Regions from separate parts of the Homo sapiens genome. Here region 1 is linked to region 2. Evidence: promoter capture Hi-C in human tissues and cell types (Jung and others, 2019). All regions are on one chromosome and are shown on one strand. The core of a region is centred on a gene start or on the middle of the fragment in contact, and the rest is flanking DNA. Distances in the headings are between cores, read along the strand shown. Region 1 overlaps ZNF318 (zinc finger protein 318). Region 2 holds the start of SLC35B2 (solute carrier family 35 member B2).

What was found. Contacts are between HindIII fragments. The study calls those that stand out against the background at their distance.
Region 1: a contact is called between a fragment that was not itself captured here and the fragment with the promoter of SLC35B2 in region 2, in 1 of the 25 tissues and cell types used here (spleen).

What each region holds. Positions count from the first base shown.
Region 1 is chr6:43,358,666-43,361,770 of GRCh38, forward strand. The region is part of intron 2 of ZNF318 (zinc finger protein 318); the gene reads right to left. Among named protein-coding and RNA genes, the nearest start is that of ZNF318, 9.4 kb to the right of the region's middle. The HindIII fragment of the contact is 8,687 bases long and covers 1-3,105 here.
Region 2 is chr6:44,256,052-44,259,243 of GRCh38, forward strand. It overlaps SLC35B2 (solute carrier family 35 member B2), which reads right to left and starts at 1,477. Exons shown (of 4, transcript NM_178148.4): 1 at 1,349-1,477; 2 at 634-827; 3 at 291-445. The coding sequence starts at 1,359. It overlaps NFKBIE (NFKB inhibitor epsilon), which reads right to left. Exons shown (of 6, transcript NM_004556.3): 6 at 2,115-3,192. The coding sequence ends at 3,168. RefSeq lists an enhancer at 1,066-1,779 and a silencer at 1,156-1,695. The HindIII fragment of the contact is 5,935 bases long and covers 1-3,192 here.

The DNA of each region.
Region 1 (3,105 bases), core at 283-2,782, 900 kb before region 2:
GCCTCAACCTCCTTAAGTAGCTGGGATTACAGGTGTGCACCACCATGCTGGCTGACTTTTTGCATTTTTTTAGTAGAGATGGGGTTTCACATGTTGGCCAGGCTGGTCTCGAACTCCTGATCTCAGGTGATCTGCCCGCCTCAGCCTCCCAAACTGCTGGGATTACAGGCGTGAGCCTCCACACGTGGCTCAGATAAATGGTTTTAAAGCTGTGTTCCAGAGGTTGTAAAGAGTGCTCAGGAGCTACCAAAAGAAAGGAGGTACTAGAAAAGCAGAACCAGCAGGGCTCTTGACCTTCTATCCCAGTTAAATCACACTAATTCCAACTTTAAGTCTGTATATTAAGGTTCTAATAATTCAATTGGGAAAAAAAAGTATCACTATATGGTAACTTTTAAAAAAACTACTGATTTATCTAATTAGCATGATTTTCTCATAAGATTTAGAAGGTTCTCCAATGCTTTGCCTTGATGGTTCACATATTAAAACCCATAAAGCTCTCTCACAGCCTGTTTTGTCACCCTCTTTGCCTTCTCTGGATATCTACAAGCACTCTGCTAATCTTGGGCTTAGAAAAGAGAAAGTGATGGTTTGGTTCACCATATATTTTTATTTCATTAAATACAAAGGTCTCAGACCTTTGTGGCATGAGGTAAAAATCCAGGATGGGACAGCTATTCTTTTAGCTGAGAATTCTATACCACACCCAATAATGCTAACCTTCTCAGGGGCTATGGCTATGACACAAAACTAAAGTTTCTGATTTAAATCACAGATAGAAATAAAGATCCTCTAGCACTTTATGTATGAAAACTTCTAAGTACTCTGAATAAAAAATAAAAGTTCTTACATGTCACTCACATTCCAGAGTGAATTATCATCTAGAGGATGGTAACTATTAGTGTCTTCTACAGTTTCTAGTAGCTACTTTTGTTGTGAGTTTCTAGAAATGACTTTTCCTTAGTTTTTTTAGTAGTTGCTTTCCTATCTCTGAGACTATGCCAGCAGAATCTCAAAACATTGCCTTTTCTTATTCACCAGCCTGCCTTTGATCAAAGTTGTAGACCTAGGAATAAATTTATGAAAGGTTATCAAGGACAAACTTTATTTACCTTCTCTAACAAGAATGCCACCTGTGGGAATCCAGGTTTCTGTTACCCACCTTCTTCCTAAGAATTTGGGAAATTTTGAGGTTTCAATGCAGTATGAAATAGGAATAAATGGGAATAAACCAAGGATGATTTCTGAAATCAAACTGAGGTAAAAATTTTTCTCTATAGGTCTGTCAGCCATAAACACACCTATTTCCAGAGAGGAATGTTCATGAGTTGAGTCACTCCATTGCCAAAACACCATCTACCATACAAAAAGTCTCTGACCATATTAGTATAGGGAGAAAAAACATAGGCTCCATGAGGAGTGGCAAGTTCATTCACACTCCCACATTCAGCTCCCCACCAGAACTATTACATGTCACCATGAAACGGCATACTAGCCCAAGGTCTAAACCAGTACTAACTATCAAGAAGCTACAAATGAGATGGCTCTCAAAAAGCTGTAGTCCAGACTTGGAATCTCCAGTAGAGACAGAAAAAAGGCATAAAAACAGTTTTCTTAAAAAAGCTATCACATACATATAGGCAGAAATCAGGTTGCTTATTAGAAGCTCATGTCCTCCTTCCCCAGGACTCCAAAAGGATATGAGAAGAGAACTGGCTGTAGTAAGAACCCTAAAAAGGGTACAATCTCCTATACCCTGAAAGAGTCCAGCGATGGATACTCCCGGAAAGCCTTGGTTAAGTTCAACTGTTTTCTAAAATAAAGTCTATCTATTTAAAAAAACTGATTGTTGGAGTTAGGTAATAAGGACATGGGGTTTCACTGTACTATTCTACATTTTTGTGTTTACAAATCTCTGTTAAACAAGTTTTTAAAAAATGTATGTATGTCCATATAAAAACTTTTATACCAATGTTCAGAGCAGCATTAATCATAATTGCCAAAAAGTGAAAAGAATCAAAATGTTATCCATTCATTCACCACTGATGAATGGATAAACAAAACATGGTATATCCATACAATAAAATATTATCAGCAATAAAAAGGAATGCTACAAACACGGATGAACCTTAAAAAAAAATATGCTAAGTGAAAGAAGCCAGTCACAAAAGACCACATATTATATGATTCTATTTATATGAAATGTCCAGAACGGGCAAATCTATAGAGACAGAAAGTAGATTAGTGATTGCCTATGGCTGGGGGTAGGGTGGAGGGAGTAATGGCTAAAGGAACAGAGCTTCTTTCTGGTGTAATAAAAATGTTCTAAAATTGATTGTAGTGAGGGATGCACAACTCTGAATATGCGAAAAATCACTGAACTGTACACTTCAAATGGGTGAATTATATAGTATACAAATTACATCTCGATAAAGCTGTTAAAAATGTATACATATTTTAAAAGGTCCTTCAGAGCCTAAACTCTCCATTCTTTTCTGTTGATGAGTCCCAAAAATGCCCCAAGAAAGCTGTTTGCTTCTATTCCCTAAAGAAAATCAGAGGGAAAAAAATCCCACTCCTTCAATCTGTCAGAATAAGGAGAAGAAATTAGGCGATAAGCTGGGCACAATGGCTCACACCTGTAATCTTAGCACTTGGAGAGGCCAGGGCAGAAGGATTGCTTGGGGTCAGGAGACTAGCCTGGACAACACAGATAGATAGAAACCCAATTTCTAAAAATTTATTTTTTAATTCACCAGGTGTGGCAGTGCAGCCCATAGTCCTAGCTACTCTTTAGACTGAGCTGGGAGGACCACTTGAGCCCAGGAGTTTGAGGTTACAGTGAACTATGATCACGCCACTGCACTCCAGGCTGGGCAACAGAGCAAGACATTGTCTTTTAAAAAGTTAATAATTTTTTTTAAATAAATAGCTCCATGAATGGAACATTAAATGTGCAAATTACTTTGATGAACAGGAGAAATCAACCTAACATCCACAAGTCTTTAGAAGCCAAGTGTTTTAGAATTTTTCACATTACCTTTCATGTTCCCTTTTGAGTAGAATTACAGTCCTACATACAGGGCTGCTAAGGTGAAGACACTA
Region 2 (3,192 bases), core at 227-2,726:
CGGCACAGTAGAAATCACAGAGAATAGGGCAAGAGGAGTCCTCTCTTCTGCACTAGACATCTTGAAATAACAGCATGAACTTTCAGTACCAGTGCTGGAGAGGAGAAAAGGAAGAAACAAAAGGGCATTTCCCCCAAACACCTCAAAGATGGAGGTGCAGTGTGCCCCTGGGAGGAGGACACGAAACACACCAGCCAGCAAAGCTCTGGGACTGGTAAAATGGAAACCTTCACAGAATCCCTGCCCACCGGCATCCAACCCAGGAAGAGAGGCTGAGCCCACCTACCCACCTGGAGCCCTGTGGCACAGAAGAGCAGCTTCAGGGCCTGCCACATCGGGGTGGTCTCTGCCGCCTCTGTTCGGGGCGCCAGGGGAACCTCATCAGAGGCCTTGGGCTCATTGCCAAACACACAAGCTTTCACCAGGGGAAAGCAGAGGCCCCTACCTGAAGAAAGCACACAAAGTCAAGCCCCAAATCTTCTCCATAGCACTTCATCTTCCCCAGAGCAGCCAGCCTGCCCTGCTGTCCGGCCTACCGACCTCCCGCCCTCTCCAAGTCATATCCCGTTTGGACTGCTGGCCAAATACCCTCTTTCCCGACCTAGCTCACTTCCCCGCCCTTTCTTCACACACCGGTCTCCAGGTAGTTCTTCCGCCTGAAGTACTGCACCAGGAGGTAGCCAGGTACCATAAAGCTGGCATAGCCAGCAGCATTCACCACAAATCGGAAGAACCATAGCTGGGTCCATGACTCCGGAGGGGCTTCGGGAGTCTCCCCACCTGCCCCTAGGGAGGGGAACGCAGCCAGCACCACCACTGCCCACCATCTGTAAGGAAAGCGGACATAAGGATTAGGGCGCAGCTCCTCATCCCCTCCGCCCTCCAGAGGGGACCACACTGGAGTAGTGCCCGGAGTCTCCTCCCCGCCCCCTCCGCTGCAGCTCCGGCCCGGACAAAGAGCCTCTCTCTCTCTCTCTCTCTCGGGGAGGGGGTGCGCCGGCGCTGGCCAGGCAGAGCTTCCTCCCTCCCCGGGGGCGGATCCGCCCCTCTGGCCACACAGGTCTCCTCTGTTCCCTCCAACGCTAGCCGGCTGCTCAGGTCAGAGGAAGCGCCCCTTCCCCCACACTCCCCTCCACGATCCGGGACGTCAGGGTCCCCAGCCCCTCCGCCCGAAGCTCCCCAAGGAGCACAAAACCAAGCCGCAGCTCCCATCCCCGCTGGCTCCGGGCAGCGATATGCTGGCCGACGGCCGAGCAGCCGGGACCCCACCCGGCCCCCGTGCTGAGGCGCGGCAGTCACGTGGCCCGGGGGCTCGGTCACGTGAGCTCGCTGCTGCCCTAGCCCCCACCTGGCGTCCATGGTCCAGGCCGCGTGGGGTGGAGGGGGAACCGGGGAATGCGAGTCCCCGGGCCGCGCGCCCCCTGCGCTCCCGCCGCCGCCTCCAGGAGCGGCCAGCGAGCCAGCGGCCAGCGGAAGTGCCGCGCTCTTCCCGCCTCCCTCCCCGCGGCCCCCTCCGCCCCTGCCGCGACCACGCAGCGCCCCGGGCCGCCGCCGGACCACAGCGCCCCCGCGCGGCCCGGAGGCAGACGCGGCTTGGGTTCCGGGGACCTGGGCTGCCCCTGGGCGCGGGGAGCCCCAGCCCTGAAGAGGCGCCCGCCCGGCGTGTCCCCTGTGCTTCGTCATCGCCCTTCATAAGCGTCCCAGAGGTCATGGTGACCATTGCCATCTTGTGGACAGGACATTGAGGCTCTGCATCCCAAGCCGCTCCTCTGTGTTAGTTTCCCCGTTTTCTGACAGGATGAAGGTGTCTCCTTGCTTTGTTGGCTGGGTAGTAATTCTGTCCCACTTCCCATGATCTTCGAGGCTCTACATGGCCTCGCCCGCGTTCCTCGCCCACTCACTCGCCCGCTGTGAAGCCCCACTGGCTTGCTCTCAGTTCCTCTAATTCACAGGCTTTCCCCCTAATGCTCTGCCCCCATCCCTTTACTCATCCTTACATCCCAGTTGAGATGATACTCCTCAGGCGAGGGTTCCCGGACCACCCAAAGTATGACCCTCTACCGACTCCATCCTTTTCCTTCCCACTATTCTTTTCCCTTCATAGCACCCACTGCAACTTGGAAAGGCATCTTTATTTGGATGTTTATGCTTTTAACGGCTGTCTCTCTCACTGGATGAGACGCTCCAAGTGGTCAGAGACTGTGCTGGTTTATTGCCCCATGCTCTTCATGCCAGCATAGGGGTGACCTAGCAGGGCCCTCGAAGGTGAGGAACGGGGGGAAAAACGTGGAGTCAGCTCCCTCGTGCCCAGCCTCCCTGGGTTACCCTTATCCCCAGGCTCCTCCAGATGGCAACCCCCAGGGCAGTGGTGAGGGCTCCAGGGCGTGTGTCCTCTCATTCTTCCTCTTGTCCCTCCATCCCTCATCATTTCCACAGCAAGGACAAGGGTCTGTGCTGGACACAGAGAAAGGCCTGGAACTACTGGCCTCTGACCCCACCCAGCAAGGCCCTACCGTGCTCAGGGGACAATTTCCTTCTCTCTGCCTCTACCACAAAGTCACAGGGCAGGCCTGTCTAAAAAGCCCCAATGCACACAGACATGCATGCGCGCAAAACAGCTCTAGAAGGGAAAAACTTTTTTTAACGTCTCTGCCATTTTAGTGTCATGTTACTGAAACTTCCCTTCCCCAGTGGCTCAGTTCAGAGCCTTCTGTGTGAAGTCTTTAAACAACGGTGTTTCAGGGTCCTCAACAGCAATAAGATGGGACACCTCTCAGGGTTCTGCTTGCTCCTATTTCAGTCTCTTCTCACTCAGGAGAGTCCATGCTTCCTACTGGTTGGCAGTTTCAGGCTGACCCAACATGGGTAAAACAAGAGCACCTGCCATTTTCAAGAGAGGCAAACAGGCTTCACCCAGGATACCTGGGGCTTTGGGGGTCTTCCAAGAAGCCCTGTCCACCTGGAAAGCTCTTCCTTCCAGACTGGCTCTCTTCCACTTGCAGTCCCTCCTCCTCGGCTCAGGACTGTACTGGCTGGCCCCAGGCTCTGGCCACAGCAGTCCCTAGGGCACCAGAAGAGCACATAGCCTGGGCCCAAACTGCAGCAGTTATGGCTCCGGCTTCCAGATGGAGAGGTGGAGCCCTGAGGATCCCAGACCCTGCCTGGCTTCAGTCGGTACACAGCAGCAGTTTC